Regions from separate parts of the Homo sapiens genome. Here all the other regions are linked to region 2. The links are contacts of gene promoters, found by promoter capture Hi-C in human tissues and cell types (Jung and others, 2019). All regions are on one chromosome and are shown on one strand. The core of a region is centred on a gene start or on the middle of the fragment in contact, and the rest is flanking DNA. Distances in the headings are between cores, read along the strand shown.

Region 1 (3,277 bases), core at 274-2,773, 420 kb after region 2:
AGCCAATAAAATTATGTTAACATCTATGTAATGTCCAATATTGGTTCTCTTTCAATGGCAATTATCTTCCAAGTAGTCATTTATGGCTCCTTATTGGGCTTCTTCCATCTCTGGCTCTGCCATTTTTGACCTAGGGCTTCTAAGGTTGCCACACCCATCTACATCAAGCTGACATTGTTCCAGAAATTTTTTATAGGCTAAGTCCTGGGGATGGTATACATCACTTCTGTTCATATTTCATTGGCTGGACTTCAGTTATGGCTGACTTCAAGGGAGGCTGGGAAACTGGGGCAAGAATAGAAAATGCTTGGTGAACAGCTAGCTAGTTTCTGTGTAGGAGTGTTTTTTGTTATAAGGATTTTACAGATTTAAATTTAAATTTAAAAGTCCATGAACATGGTTTTTCATCTCTGTCTTCTGTGGTAGTATGTTGACATCATATGGCCAGGTCACTCACCACCCCCTCCCCCCACCATCCCCAAGGAAACTCAGTCTCAATAAGGACATTTCTTGGGGAGGGGGAAGGTAGCTCATCACACTAACACCAAAGCTCTCAGAAGTTGCAAAGCTTGAATTTTTAAGAAAATGTAAAGGGACTACAGCTTTATAATGAGCATTTTAAACAGAAAAGAACAGATTTAATAGAACTTTTATTAAAGTCAAGCAGCGATATCTTCATACTTCATGCTGAGAATTTTTTTCTTTTTCTTTAACTCTTGAATGTCTTTTTAATGATTTTTAACAATTTAAATGTAGAAACTTATGTTCTATTTTCTAGAGTTTTGATTTTAGACAAAAAGGCATTTGTATAAAGAATCCTTTAGAGTGTTTATACAGAGCTCTATGTTTAGTATTTTTCTTACAAATCTCAATCCCCTGGAGTCATGGGGCACTCAGAGCCCAGGGACTCAAGTTCACCATTAGTTTAATGGTTTTGACCTCTGCTCTAAAGTGGATTTGTACAGAGAGTCATGCCTTGCATGTCCCAGAGTCATTAGCTTGGCATGAAATGGTTCTACTGCTTATGTTGCAGTATAATTGTTTCTGAGTTGGGCTTCTGTAAAATGATTATGTCTACTCGAAGACCTGAAGAATTTAAGAGCAATCTGCTCATGGGGTGTCAGTATTTGAGGGCTGGCAACTGGATAATCTTATGTGTAAGATAGAACCTAACTTTCTCTACTCATTTAGTTACCTAGGGTACTGGCTCACTTAAAGATTTGAGAGGCATCTCTTTTCAAGATTAGTATTTCCCACCATGGCTATGGAAACAGTTCTCTATGTCGGCCAAGCCAGCTCTGAGCAATCTTCTGGGAACTTAATATTGTTTATTATTGAATATTTTGTTCATTAATTTGGGGTCCTAAGTATGTCTCAGCTTTTTGATATAATGTCTCCAATAGTGATATTTATTTTAACTCATATGCTAGAAGCCAAAGCTTCATTAATTTGACAATGATTTGCTACATGGTTAACAGGCCAGGTGTCTAGAATAAAAAATCTGCATCAAATAACTTTTGAATGACAAGGTGACCATATTCTGGCCAAAGGGAAGACTTAAATTGAATAAATAAATGTTGTAGTATATTAGAAAGTGGTAAATGCCATGAAGGAAATAAATGGGAGTAGGAAGTTTAAGGGTTGGTAGATATTGCAATATTAAATATGGTAGTCAGGGAGGATGTTATTGATTATGTGACATTTGAACAAAAACTTAAAGGAGCTGAGGAAAGAGCATTCCAGGCAGAGATGAGAGCAAGGATGAGGCCTTTTAAACTGACTTATTTGAGGAACAGCAAAGAGGCCAACTTGTGTTACTAGTGATAGAGAATGAGGAGATCCTGATAGGAGATGCGGCCAGAGAAGCTGAGTTCTGGGGTGGGAATAGGGTGAGGGGAGCAGAAGAGAGTAAGTCCTGACTAGGAGCAACACCTGAATTTTGTGGCATCCTGGAGGCCAGGCAGAGAAAATGTGTGGAGGAGGGAGTGATGGACTATGCCAAAAGATGCTGGTGGGTCACACGAGGTGCAGTCTGAGAACTGACCACTGGGTTTAGATTTGCATTGAGTAAGTGTAGTGGGATCAAGAGTGAATGGGAGGAGAGAAAGTAAAGATTATTTTTTTAAGAGAAGTTTTGCTGCAGTAAGGTGGTACAAATCAGAAGCAAAGTTGAGAGAGCTCTTTTACTTTTAAGAAGGGAGAAATCATGTGATGTTTGTATGCTGATGAGAATAATCCAGGGGAGAGGGAAAAATTGATACAGGAGTGAGAGGAGAGAATTGATGAAGGTTAGAGAGGAGGGATCTGATGCATGAGAAGAGAGATTGGCCTTAAATACAAGCACGGCCAGTGTATCCATGAGGAGGGCAAATCAATGGGCATGGACGCTGGTAGATGGGTAAGTATAGAGATGGGACCATGTGGACTCTTCTAATTGCTGGTAGGTGGGTAAATATAGAGATAGGGGCATGTGGACTCTTCTAAAGCTTTCTTAGCACAACAAGGAATAAGAGCATCATCTGGGAGCAGGAATGAGAGAGGACTTTGAGGAGAGAGGAGAAGTAATTGTGAGAGAAGGGAAATGAATGGGGCAAGGGGTGTTATTGTGATTGCTCAGCAGCATTTTGGTGGTCATGTCTACGAAGGACTTAAAGACAGGTAAGAATTGAGGTGTGAGAGGTAACCAGGGGTCAGATGTACTAGAGCCTTTTGGGCTGTGGTCATGACTTTGGATTTCATTCTGAGTGAGATGGGCAGCTGTTGGAGAATTTGAGCAGTGGAGTGACACTATCTGACTTAGGTTCTAAAAGGATCACTTTGACCACTCTGTGCAGAATATTTTGCAGGAGCAGAAGCAGGACCAAAACTAGTTCAGCAGTCTAAGAGAAAGATGATGGTGGCTCCAGCTAAGGTGCAAGTGGTGAAGGGGAGAAAAAGAGCTGGATTTGAGATAAATTTTGAAGGCAGAGCTGACAGGAATTGTCAATTAAAAGAAGAGTGTGAGAAAGAGGCATTAAGGATGAGTTTAAGATCTAATCTTGAGCAATGCATAAATACTAGTGCTAATTAGATATCAGATTTCTCAGTCCCCAATACACCTATAAGATCAGCACAAACTGAGCTGGCATTCTTAGCCATGTAGCAAAATGATCCCCATGTAGACTGAGGCAGTAGTCTCCTTCAGGTTAATGTTGCTAATAGCCTCATATTTCAGACACAAAGGAAGCAGGTTTTGGCATGAACATGGTATGCAGGAGGTTTAAGATGTGTAGTTTTT
Region 2 (2,898 bases), core at 252-2,751:
GTATTGAAGGTACTAATTAATTAGATTTCCAAAATTTTCTACAGAGAGTTAATTATCACCAAAATGTGAATGGTACATACAAAACCTGGCATTTTCTTGTGATAAGTTTACATTTTTAGGAGAGTGGAGCTTTCAATCTGCCCTTTTCTCCTTTGTTTTTGTAGTTTTCACCAAAGATGATCAACTAGAAATGTTAAGTGGCTATGCAAGCAAAAGCATAGATAGGTTAAAAAAAAGGATCAGCTGGCTGGGCAGGGTGGCTCATGTCTATAATCTCAGCATTCTAGGACAGTGATGTGGGAGGATTATTTGAGGCTAGGAGTTCCAGTTCGAAACCAGCTTCGTAAACATAGCAAGACCCAGTCTCTACCAAAAAAAAAAAAAAAAAAAAAAAAAAAAAAAATATATATATATATATACACACACACACACACATATGTACACATACATATATATACATATATATGTATATATAGAACACATGGCAAGAGCAGGAAATGGGAAGACTACCTTTTTTCTGGCAGCTATGTGTTGTTTTGTTCGAAAGATGGCAAGTGTACAACCAAACCAATCCACTTGCTTACAGAAAGAATGTTTAGTGTAGTTAAGACTAATTTGACAACAGATAAAACAGTCTGTCAGCTATTACAAAGTAATCAGCTGAACACTAATGCTGTTCTGTCTGCTCACAAGAGATAAAGATACCCTCTCATGGAATAAACACCTTGCTTAGAATTCATATAACAAAGAAGTAACCTTATAACTGCTCTCTAGTCTGCCTTATTTGTGTCATAGAGTAAGATATTCCTTGAAAGCCCATTAAGTGGAATAGACTTTCTGAAAATAAGAGTTCTTTACCTCAGTCCTCCTCTAATTTGGTTGAGAGGAGGTAATGAAAATGGGGACAGGATAAAAGGTGGCAACTAAATTTAAAGCACAGAAGAAATGATTTCCTTCTAGCTATGAGAATAGTCAAATTGAGCTTGCCAGGCTGTCTCATTCCTAACATGTAATTCATGATTTAGCCACTAAATTTCTAAGGAGATCATAAGAAATTAAGAAAAACGTTTAAGTCTAGCCTCTGCGTGGTAGACAGGTATGGGGAGGGAGAATGCTTTTCCCCTCCCAGTAATAAAAAAAAAAAAAAAAAAAATATATATATATATATATATATATATATATATATATATATATATATATATATATATAGTTTTACTAGGTTTTCATGGATAAGTTTTTAAATGTAAGACAGGAAAGGGATCTATTTGATGTCTATCTTCAGATATATTGGCAGTTTTCCTTAAGCTATTTAGTTCCTCATCTGTTGCTTTTTCATTTTGTATACTGCAAGTTCCCAGGCAACTCGAATTTGCAAACACAGCCATGGATACACTATTTACCTTACAGTAGTTTCCTGGGAATCTAAGTCTGGTTTTTGTTATTCTTCCCTCCCCTCCACTGCATAATCATGTATAACTAGCAACATTTATGGTTATAGGTTGATTTCCTAAGTGTGGCTGATGGTAGCCTCTAGTTTGAAGTGAGGGAAGAATGAGTAGTCAGGAACTGGTCACTTTGAATGTGGGAGGGAAGATATTCACGACAAGGTTTTCTACGATAAAGCAGTTTCCTGCTTCTCGTTTGGCACGCATGTTAGATGGCAGAGACCAAGAATTCAAGATGGTTGGTGGCCAGATTTTTGTAGACAGAGATGGTGATTTGTTTAGTTTCATCTTAGATTTTTTGAGAACTCACCAGCTTTTATTACCCACTGAATTTTCAGACTATCTTAGGCTTCAGAGAGAGGCTCTTTTCTATGAACTTCGTTCTCTAGTTGATCTCTTAAACCCATACCTGCTACAGCCAAGACCTGCTCTTGTGGAGGTACATTTCCTAAGCCGGAACACTCAAGCTTTTTTCAGGGTGTTTGGCTCTTGCAGCAAAACAATTGAGATGCTAACAGGGAGGATTACAGTGTTTACAGAACAACCTTCAGCGCCGACCTGGAATGGTAACTTTTTCCCTCCTCAGATGACCTTACTTCCACTGCCTCCACAAAGACCTTCTTACCATGACCTGGTTTTCCAGTGTGGTTCTGACAGCACTACTGATAACCAAACTGGAGTCAGGTATTTTGTACTTTGCAGTATTTCTCTTGTATACCAGTTTGTGATGTTTTCTCTAAAAACTTGAAGTTCCTCAGGCCTGTAACTTCTGGAAAAGATGATTATTCAAAATAATGTTTTGGGGTAACCAGTGGAGTTGGGTAGAATGACCAAATAATTATTTTCCAAACTGGGATACTTTTTAGAGTGAAAGGGGCTATTATTAGGTGGGACAAAAGGAATAAATGAAGACTGCCCAGAAAAAACTGAGACTATGGACATTCAAATCATGGGAGAAAATAATTTTGTAGATTATGTTCCATTGCTAATGAATTTGACTTAGAAAAGAATTGCCTTATTTTTAAGAGATTGTTTCAGTGGTTCACATAAAGGCTCGCTCACTGGTTTCTCTTGAGTTCCTTACACACTATATAAGTTGTTCTTTCAGTTTTATGATTCAACTACTGTTTTTCCTTCAGCTGACTTTATTTTTAAACACCCTTAAAGACAGATATATCTCATGGCAAATTTGGTATCCTGTTACAGCCTTGGCTCTTAAACAACTCAAAATATTGGGATAGGCTGTCAGTATGTTAAGGATAGTTGCTCCTGAGTCAATTCTTCACTTACTCCCTCTGTTGTTCTTGGCTGGATCCTAACGCTGATTTCCACTCTGCTGTCACAAACATTTTTCCCCCCGTAAAATGTCTTAATGCTGTCCTACCATTATTTTACCAACTGTGAAAGCTGGCTTTAATTTTTAGGAGGAAAAGAAAAGCCTGCATGTGTTCTT
Region 3 (2,935 bases), core at 70-2,569, 370 kb after region 2:
TTAAAATCTGGATCCAGATTTTCTAATGAGCAATTTGCAGAAAGAACCCACCTGCATCAAATGGCAAAGTCAGAACCACGTGCAAGAGTGAACTGCACAGCCCTTGCTTAGCAACATGCCGCTTGTAGCCCACTGGGGGTGGAGTGCCCTCCAATCCAGACTCTACACTAAGAAATTAGGTAATTCAATGGCAATAGTAATTTTAGCTGCAGTTTAAGGAACGTTTACAGCTTTGAAACAGGAAATGGAAAACAATAAGTAAGAAACTATAAAATAAATTGAGCACATAGCTTTCTGTTACATTTTATACCCAGTGGTATGGAAAGTTTACTTAAGGAAATGACAAGGCTTATTTAGAGGACCAGCAACTTCTGGAGTCTTTTATTGAAATGGAAATGGGAGCAATGTTGGATACTCTTAAGGCTATTTCTTTGTAAATTCCCAATTGGGAAGCTTTAATATGTGTCCAGAAGGATTTAAAGACATTTTTCTTTTAATATTTACATGCCATATTATAATAAGATGAATCTTTGCTGTGAATTTGAATCTGAATATTAATGTTGGCTGTATTTTATTGAGTGATTATAGTGAGCCAGGCTCTGTATTAAGCACTTAAAATGACTGAGCTTATTTAATTTATTTAACATTATGATGTAGGTATTATTATTATCTCCATTTTACAGATGAGAAAACTGAAGATAAGAAAAATTCTGCAGCTTGCCTAGAATATGGCTGCTAGCAAATGTTGTAAAGGAACTCAGATCTGCCCATTCCCAGAGCCTGAGGTCTTAATCTATTCTGCTGACTTAAATTCTGTATCATGAGTTTCACAACCTGAAGCTTGGGAACTCCTGTGGAGCCCTGGAGTGATGTTTAAGGAATACTTCAGTGAGCTGTACACACTACAACTCCCATATTGCATTTTAGTTTTTAAAAATAGTTTCTTTAAAATAAATGCAAGAGGGGTCTCTGAACAATATGCTCAGGTCTCCAAACTGGCTGAATTTACCACGGACTATTTTTCTAGCATTTGGATTTTAACAGAAGCAGAGCAAAGTTGGGATGACCACACCCTTCCTGGGCTTCAAGGACTTTAAAAATGTCCTGGCTGCCCCAGAAGTTGGAGAGCTCTACATTTCAGCGTTGGTGGTGTGTGTTGTCTGAATGAAATGGGTTAGGGGTAGTGGGGAGATAAGAGGATTTATAGCCTAAAGAAGGTCAGGGAATCCCAGTGGCCCACCTGCTTTAGAGTCTCAATTTTCTCAACTTTAAATGGAAATGATATCATTACCTATGTAATCTGAGTGTTGTTAAATGCATTAAATTAGGCAATACATGTGAATAAAGCTTATGAGTTATTATTTTGGAGGTATTTAATGTGTTCTCCCCTCCTTGACAGTGGGCTGATATTTTACCATCCTGTTTCTAAGGCCCTGTTAAAGTTGTTTTTCTGAGCGTGCTCTATCCATCAGGATCCTGGCAGGAAACAGATGGTGCGCTCATGCTGGGAAGAGTTTAATAAAGGAACTGTTTACAAAAGTGTGCGCAGGATTTAGGAAAAGCAACAAGGGATGTTGCAGCGCCCCAGTAGAGGGCCATTACCAACACTAAGCCAGAAGGGTGGAAGGAAAGGAGTGTTTACCAGCACCTAGAGAGGTTTTTGAGAGGGCTGCCTGATAGTTAATGTGGCCTTTGGTGGAGGAATGCAATCAAGTCACAGAAACCTACCAGGGAGAGATCTTGGGGGAAAAATATCCTGACCTCACTTTCCTCCCTCCCTTTAATCTCCTGCAGGTATTCTCCACTGGTTGAATGCAAATGGAAGCCAGAGGAAAAGGGAACCCTTGACACAGTTTTCATATAGATTGGCCTCCAGGGCAGACAGCAGGTGAGAGTGGAGAGTGGGGCTGGGGGACAAAGAGCAGGTATGGAGCACAGCATGTGGCTCTCCACATGTTTACCAGTAACCTTCATCACTCTTGCCAGACTGGACCGAGAATCAACTCAGCCCATAATTATGCTGTCGTGGTGCCTCTACCTCCTTTTCTGTGTTTTCTCAATTTCCAGAAACTTATTCTCCACTTCCAAGCTGTCTTGTGTTCTTTTGCTCCTCTAAGTCTTCTTATTGTGGAAAAATGAACACAAAAAGTTAACTCACACACTTAAATGTCTTATGCCTAATTGTTACTTTAAAATGTGCATACTTATTTTCACTTCTGGGATGGCTAAATTGCTACCAGACTGACCACAGATAAACAATACAAAGAACAACTATCTGAAGGTGAGTAACTGTAAGCAGATTATGGGGATTAGTTGGCACATGTGTGAAAGGATAAGACAAGGTGTGTCTTCCCCTATTTATGGTTTTTAGCTTAAGAGCAGGCCTTAGACAATGCCCATAGTCTTTCTGGCCTGACGAACTAGAAGAAAAAGTTGAGAGCAGCCAGAGCCAGAAGAAAGTGAGAGGAAACCTCTAAAAGAAGAGTGCCAGAGAGGGGAGCCCCAAATTCCATGCATCAGGTGCCCAACTTTCTGGCTGAGTCCCAAACTTTGTGTGCATGTGGCACACTGCAAGCAGCTCAGTAAAGGGTCAATGACCTAACTGAGATAAGAGCTACTGCCCAAAAGACAGAGTTTGCAGTTTTGTCAAAACAAAAACATCACACTCGACGGGAGAAGTGTAACAGAAATGCAGAATCTCCCTAACAAAACATTCCCAGTGTCCAGGAAACCATCCAGAATTACCCAACATACAAAGAGCAGGAACCAGATTCCTGACCTATTCTGAAGAGAAAATATAATCAATGAAGATCAATCTTGAGATGACCTAGATATTGGAATTAATAGATGTAGACTTTAAAGCAACTGTTACTACAGTAATTAAAGGAACATTTATATTTTTATGTGCTTGTATTAGAAAAGAAGAAAAGTCTAA
Region 4 (3,193 bases), core at 557-3,056, 490 kb after region 2:
GGAATTGCATATATAAATTTTGACACAGAAATTTCATATCTAGAAACTTATCCCATGGAAATAACAGCACGACGTTTTTATTATTTAATTTCATCTCAGGAGCATTTCCCCATACTAGTAAATAGTTTTTAAAACAATTATTATTTTTTTCTACCAATTGTGTATTTCTTCTTTCCATGGTGATGACATAATTTCTTTAAGTATTTTCCTATTATTGGGCATTTGTGTCATTTTGAATATTCTGCTTTTAGGTTTAAGAGACATATAACCAAATCAGATAATGAGTATTGTTTAGATCCTGATTGAAACAAATAGTACAAAGGCATTTTCAAGATTACCTGGAAATTTTGAATATTTAAAGGGTGTTCAATGATACAAAATTAGTATTAATTTGTTTTGTGTTATATTGGCTTTCTTGGATTGGTGTCACATCGATCTCTCTACTCTTTGCTTGGAGAATTCAATTGTTTACCTCTATATCCTGCATTTTCAAGAATGATAAGAAGAAGAAGTCACATTTTGATTGTCCCTTTCCAAGGGAGGGAAACCCCAGGGATCTAAAGCCCTATTTAGCTCCTTGGGGAACGGGAAGGGATGGGGGGATACATTCTTTAAAATTCTTTCTTATTCTGTTAAGCCAGTAAGAAATTAGGATTGCTTATTTGTTAACCTGGTCTCCTTGCTACAGTTTTTGGGAGACATGTTTGCCAATAATTTAAGTTCTAAAATAATGCCCTTAAATGAACAAAAAAATTGTGTTTATTAAATACAAACCAACTAGTGAACAATTGAGGCTTAGGTGAGAATTGGGTCAATGGAATGAGAAGTATATTTTTTCTCATTTCTTTTAGTGTGAAAATAAGGTCATTCTTTGCATTATAAATAGTACATGTTTATTATAGGTAATATCAATAATGTCCGTACTATCACTATTCAAAGATACTAATATTTTAGTGTCTTTTCATCCTGTCTTTTTCCAGGTGTAGTTATTATTCAATTTATAATTTGGCATCCTACCATATATATAATTTAACATCTACTCTTTTAACGTAAGTATTTCTTAATATTATCATAAATTCTTGTATAACATTCTTTTTAATGACTCCATAATATTCTACCAAGTATATATATATTACTACATATAATAGTATTACATATATAATAGTTTAACTATCTTACTATTATCAGAAAAATAATATATTTACTATAAAACTTTTTTTAATACTTTAAGTGTTAGGGTACATGTGCACAACGTGCAGGTTAGTTACATATGTATACATGTGCCATGTTGGTGTGCTGCACCCATTAACTCGTCATTTAACATTAGGTATATCGTCTCATGCTATCCCTCCCCCCCTCCCCCCACTCCACAACAGGCCCTGGTGTGTGATGTTCCCCTTCCTGTGTCCATGTGTTCTCATTGTTCAATTCCCACCTATGAGTGAGAACATGTGGTGTTTGGTTTTTTGTCCTTGCCATAGTTTGCTGAGAATGATGGTTTCCAGCTTCATCCATGTCCCTACACAGGACATGAACTCATCCTTTTTTATGGCTGCATAGTATTCCATGGTGTATATATGCCACATTTTCTTAATCCAGTCTAACATTGTTGGACATTTGGCATGGTTCCAAGTCTTTGCTATTGTGAATAGCACCACAATAAACATACATGTGCATGTGTCTTTATAGCAGCATGATTTATAATCCTTTGGGTATATACCCAGTAATGGGATTGCTGGGTCAAATGGTATTTCTAGTCCTAGATCCCTGAGGAATCGCCACACTGACTTCCACAATGGTTGAACTAGTTTACAGTCCCACCAACAGTGTAAAAGTGTTCCTATTTTCCACATCCTCTCCAGCACCTGTTGTTTCCTGACTTTTTAATGATCGCCATTCTAACTGGTGTGAGATGGTATCTCACTGTGGTTTTGATTTGCATTTCTCTGATGGCCAGTGATGATGAACATTTTTTCATGTGTCTTTGGGCTGCGTAAAAGTCTTCTTTTGAGAAGTGTCTGTTCATATCCTTCGTCCACTTTTTGATGGGGTTGTTTGTTTTTTTCTTGTAAATTTGTTTGAGTTCATTGTAGATTCTGGATATTAGCCCTTTGTCAGATGAGTAGATTGCAAAAATTTTCTCCCATTCTGTAGGTTGCCTATTCACTCTGATGGTAGTTTCTTTTGCTGTGCAGAAGCTCTTTAGTTTAATTAGATCCCATTTGTCAATTTTGGCTTTTGCTGCCATTGCTTTTGGTGTTTTAGACATGAAGTCCTTGCCCATGTCTATGTCCTGAATGGTATTGCCTAGGTTTTCTTCTAGGGCTTTTATGGTTTTATGTCTAACATTTAAGTCTTTAATCCATCTTGAATTAATTTTTGTATAAAGTGTAAGGAAGGGATCCAGTTTCAGCTTTCTACATATGGCTGGCCAGTTTTCCCAGCACCATTTATTAAATAGGGAATCATATCCCCATTTCTTGCTTTTGTCAGGTTTGTCAAAGATCAGATGGTTGTAGATATGTGGCATTATTTCCGAGGGCTCTGTTCTGTTCCATTGGTCTAGATCTCTGTTTTGGTACCAGTACCATGCTGTTTTGGTTACTGTATCCTTGTAGTATAGTTTGAAGTCAGGTATCGTGATGCCTCCAGCTTTGTTCTTTTGGCTTAGGATTGACTTGGCAATGCGGGCTCTTTTTTGGTTCCATATGAACTTTAAAGTAGCTTTTTCCAATTCTGTGAAGAAAGTCATTGGTAGCTTGATGGGGATGGCATTGAATCTATAAATTACCTTGGGCAGTATGGCCATTTTCACGATATTGATTCTTCCTACCCATGAGCATGGAAGGTTCTTCCATTTGTTTGTATCCTGTTTTATTTCATTGAGCAGTGATTTGTTGTTCTCCTTGAAGAGGTCCTTCACATCCCTTGTAAGTTGGATTCCTAGGTATTTTATTCTCTTTGAAGCAATTGTGAATGGGAGTTCACTCATGATTTGGCTCTCTGTTTGTCTGTTATTGGTGTATAAGAATGCTTGTGATTTTTGCACATTGATTTTGTATCCTGAGACTTTGCTGAAGTTGCTTATCAGCTTAAGGAGATTTTGGGCTGAGATGATGGGGTTTTCTAGATATACAATCACGTCATCTGCAAACAAGGACAATTTGACTTCCTCTTTTCCTAATTGAATACC
Region 5 (2,954 bases), core at 238-2,737, 360 kb after region 2:
ATTTAATAATTTGTTTATAATCATCTTTTAATTAAACTGTGAGATCCTTGAGGGCAGGAATTGTATTTTATTTATATAGGATGCCCAGTAGTAAGCATAGTGCCTATACCTGTACAGGTGATTAGTAACTGTTTAAATGAATTCTTCATTTAACAAATATTTCTTGAGACTTTTTATGTTGCAGGCATTGTTCTGGGCCTTGTAGATGTGGCAGTAGTCAAGAAAAACAAAGACCTTTCCTACCTGAAGCTTGTGTTCCGGTAGAGAAAATGGATAAACAGATAAAAATAATAGACATTGCATATACTTTCAAGTAATGATATGTGCTACGAAGAAGAAAAAAGGCAGTGTAGGAGGTTGTGGGTCGATGGGATTTCTCTTAGATTCACAAATCAAGAGGTGATCAAATGAAACTTAACCAAAAAAGACAATGACTTCTCTCTAACCAAACTTGATTACTGATAGTCTTTTTCCAAGTCAGCTTAATGTGCTGTTCAAGAGAATCAGTGTGGAAGGAAGGAAATGTGCAAGAGAGTCCTGTATCAGACACAGTGGGCAGGGAGCTTTACATCTCTCATCTTATTGGGCTTTGACAACACCCTTCAAGATAGGTGCTGTTGCAGATGAATGACAACCTGAACTTCAGGGAGGCCAAATAATGTGTCCATGTGGAGTGTCTGAGTGTGTAAGCCAAGGTTCAAACCCCGGCCATCCTGGGCCACTTGTCAACACCAGTTCTACAGTTGAATTCTATGAATACTTATCAGGTGCTGACTTCATGTCAAGCCCTGTTCTTCATGCTTAGCATACACCAGCAAATAGAATAGACAGAAATCCCTGCCATTTCAGAAAGTAACAAGTGTTGACAAGGATGTGGAGAAATTGAAACGCTTGTGCACTGTTGGTGGGAATGTAAAATGGCACAGGTACTATGGGAAACAGTATGGTAGATCCTCAGAAAATTAAAAATATAATTACCATATGATCCAATGATTCCATTTCTGGAAATATACCCAAAGGAATGGAAAGCAGGATCTTGAAGAGATATTTGTAGACTCATGTTCATAGCAGCATTAACCAAAAGGTAGAAGCAATGCAAGTACCCGTCAACAGGTGAATAGATAAATAAGATGTAGCCTATATGCATTTACCACACATGGAATATTATTAAGTCTTCAGAAGGAAGGAAATTATGACATATGCTATAACATGGCTGAACCTTGATGACATTATGTTAAGTGAAATAACCCAGTTACAAAAAGACAAATATATGGTTCTGCTTATATGAGGTACCTAGACCAGTCAAATTCATAGAGAAAGTAGAAGAGTGGTTGCCAGGGGCTGGCAAAAAGGGGAAGTGGGGAGTTAGTGTTTACCGGGTACAGAGCTTCAGTTTGAGAAGATGAAGAGTTCTGGAGACGTATAGTGGTGATGGTTGCACAACAGTGTGAATGTACTCAATGCCACTGAATTGTACACTTAAAAATGGTTAAAATAGTAAATTTCATATTATGTGTATTTCACCACAATTTAAAAAATCTCTGCCCTTGTGGAGCTCATGTTTTAGTTCAGGGACATGAACAGTGAACAGATTAAATATGTAAATCATAAGCTATTAGAAGGAGATGAGTGATATAGAAACAGAACAGATTGAAGAAGATTGGGAGGGCTGCGAGCAAGGAGAGTGTGTTTTCAGTTTTAAACGGGGTGGTTAGTTTCATGGTCTTCTTCAGCTAGAGTTAAAATAAGTCGTCAATAAAGCTTGTCAGCCATGAAACTGGGGTATCTTCCTTGGCATCCATGCTTTGCCCAGAACACTCTGACTTGTTGGAATCTTGAGTGGAAATTTAAAGTCTCTCAGAAATAACTTTCAAGTTTCAGTGTAGGAAGTCCAGAGCACACAGAGGGGAGGAGGGACTGTCACTGGGCAGCATCCAGAGGGACTTCATTTTCAGTGTGTGAGGGAGACAGCCAGGCGGGGCGTGCACATTCAGGGAATAATAAACAGTAAGAGGGAGAGGGCAGAAGACAGGTGGAGTGTGTTGGAGGTGGGTACACTAAGGCAAGGCAGGAGGCTCTAAAATTTGTAGGCTGGATGATGGGAAGTAAGTGCAGTGTTTAAATTTTTATTGTAAATTAGTTATTTACTCCATCCATTGATTCCTCTAGCCAGTGTTGGAGGGACCAGCTTGGCACGTGCTTCTGGGCTCCTTCCTGGGGATTGGGTGCAAGAATGGCTGCCCTCAGAGAATGAATCACAATCTGGTAGGAAAGTAAAAACATATGCACATTGGGAATATTTAAATAGCAAGGCTGTGTAGTTTATACCAAGATGAGTGATCCAGACAATAGATGCTGTAGACAAGGAAGACAGTCAAAATATCTGTCAAAATTTCTAACAGCCAGTACTGCACAGGCATCAGACTGGATTGCGATGGATGCCAATCCCATCAGAACACACTGTGGGAGTGGACAATCTGTACCCCATGAATATTAGCCCTGGTATGGCAGCATTGAAGAGCAAAGGTCTCTAGGGACTGGGGCCACTGCGCAACAGTTCAGGGAGGAGATAGAACTCAGACTGAGCCTGGAGAGGTGGGGAGGGAGAGAGAAGCGGGAATAATTAAATTAGTTTCATGATGTAAGTAGGATTCTTAGAAGATTATTCTGACAGATATGTGTGGCATGGAGTAGAGTGGGAGGAATGAAGGAAGAAAATTGGTGAGGAGGCTGTTCTAGGAATTGAGGTGTGAGATGAGAAGAATGGAGGACTCCCTATTGGAGAGAAAGGCTTGACCCGTGAGCCAGGGAGAGCTGAGCGGCGAAGAGTAACTTGGAATTATTCCGCCAAGAGCCAAAGTATTTATTTCTTACCACGAATTGTTAAAATGTGACTATGAAGAGTAGTAAAAGCATAATAAGGTGTGAACTTAAACCCTTGACACTCTTTCCTC

The links. Contacts are between HindIII fragments. The study calls those that stand out against the background at their distance.
Region 1: a contact is called between a fragment that was not itself captured here and the fragment with the promoter of KCNRG in region 2, in 1 of the 25 tissues and cell types used here (dorsolateral prefrontal cortex).
Region 3: a contact is called between a fragment that was not itself captured here and the fragment with the promoter of KCNRG in region 2, in 1 of the 25 tissues and cell types used here (hippocampus).
Region 4: a contact is called between a fragment that was not itself captured here and the fragment with the promoter of KCNRG in region 2, in 1 of the 25 tissues and cell types used here (dorsolateral prefrontal cortex).
Region 5: a contact is called between a fragment that was not itself captured here and the fragment with the promoter of KCNRG in region 2, in 1 of the 25 tissues and cell types used here (H1 embryonic stem cells).

The regions. Positions count from the first base shown.
Region 1 is chr13:50,436,486-50,439,762 of GRCh38, forward strand. The region is part of intron 4 of DLEU1 (deleted in lymphocytic leukemia 1); the gene reads left to right. Among named protein-coding and RNA genes, the nearest start is that of DLEU1-AS1, 89 kb to the right of the region's middle. The HindIII fragment of the contact is 4,234 bases long and covers 1-3,277 here.
Region 2 is chr13:50,013,943-50,016,840 of GRCh38, forward strand. KCNRG (potassium channel regulator) reads left to right here and starts at 1,502. Exons shown (of 2, transcript NM_173605.2): 1 at 1,502-2,129. The coding sequence starts at 1,552. TRIM13 (tripartite motif containing 13) reads left to right here. Exons shown (of 2, transcript NM_213590.3): 2 at 1-2,898. The region is part of intron 10 of DLEU2 (deleted in lymphocytic leukemia 2); the gene reads right to left. The HindIII fragment of the contact is 16,932 bases long and covers 1-2,898 here.
Region 3 is chr13:50,388,404-50,391,338 of GRCh38, forward strand. It overlaps DLEU1 (deleted in lymphocytic leukemia 1), which reads left to right. Exons shown (of 7, transcript NR_109974.1): 3 at 1,795-1,888. Among named protein-coding and RNA genes, the nearest start is that of DLEU1-AS1, 140 kb to the right of the region's middle. The HindIII fragment of the contact is 3,939 bases long and covers 1-2,935 here.
Region 4 is chr13:50,501,832-50,505,024 of GRCh38, forward strand. The region is part of intron 5 of DLEU1 (deleted in lymphocytic leukemia 1); the gene reads left to right. Among named protein-coding and RNA genes, the nearest start is that of DLEU1-AS1, 24 kb to the right of the region's middle. The HindIII fragment of the contact is 5,430 bases long and covers 1-3,193 here.
Region 5 is chr13:50,369,139-50,372,092 of GRCh38, forward strand. All of the region lies in intron 2 of DLEU1 (deleted in lymphocytic leukemia 1), which reads left to right. Among named protein-coding and RNA genes, the nearest start is that of DLEU1-AS1, 160 kb to the right of the region's middle. The HindIII fragment of the contact is 3,571 bases long and covers 1-2,954 here.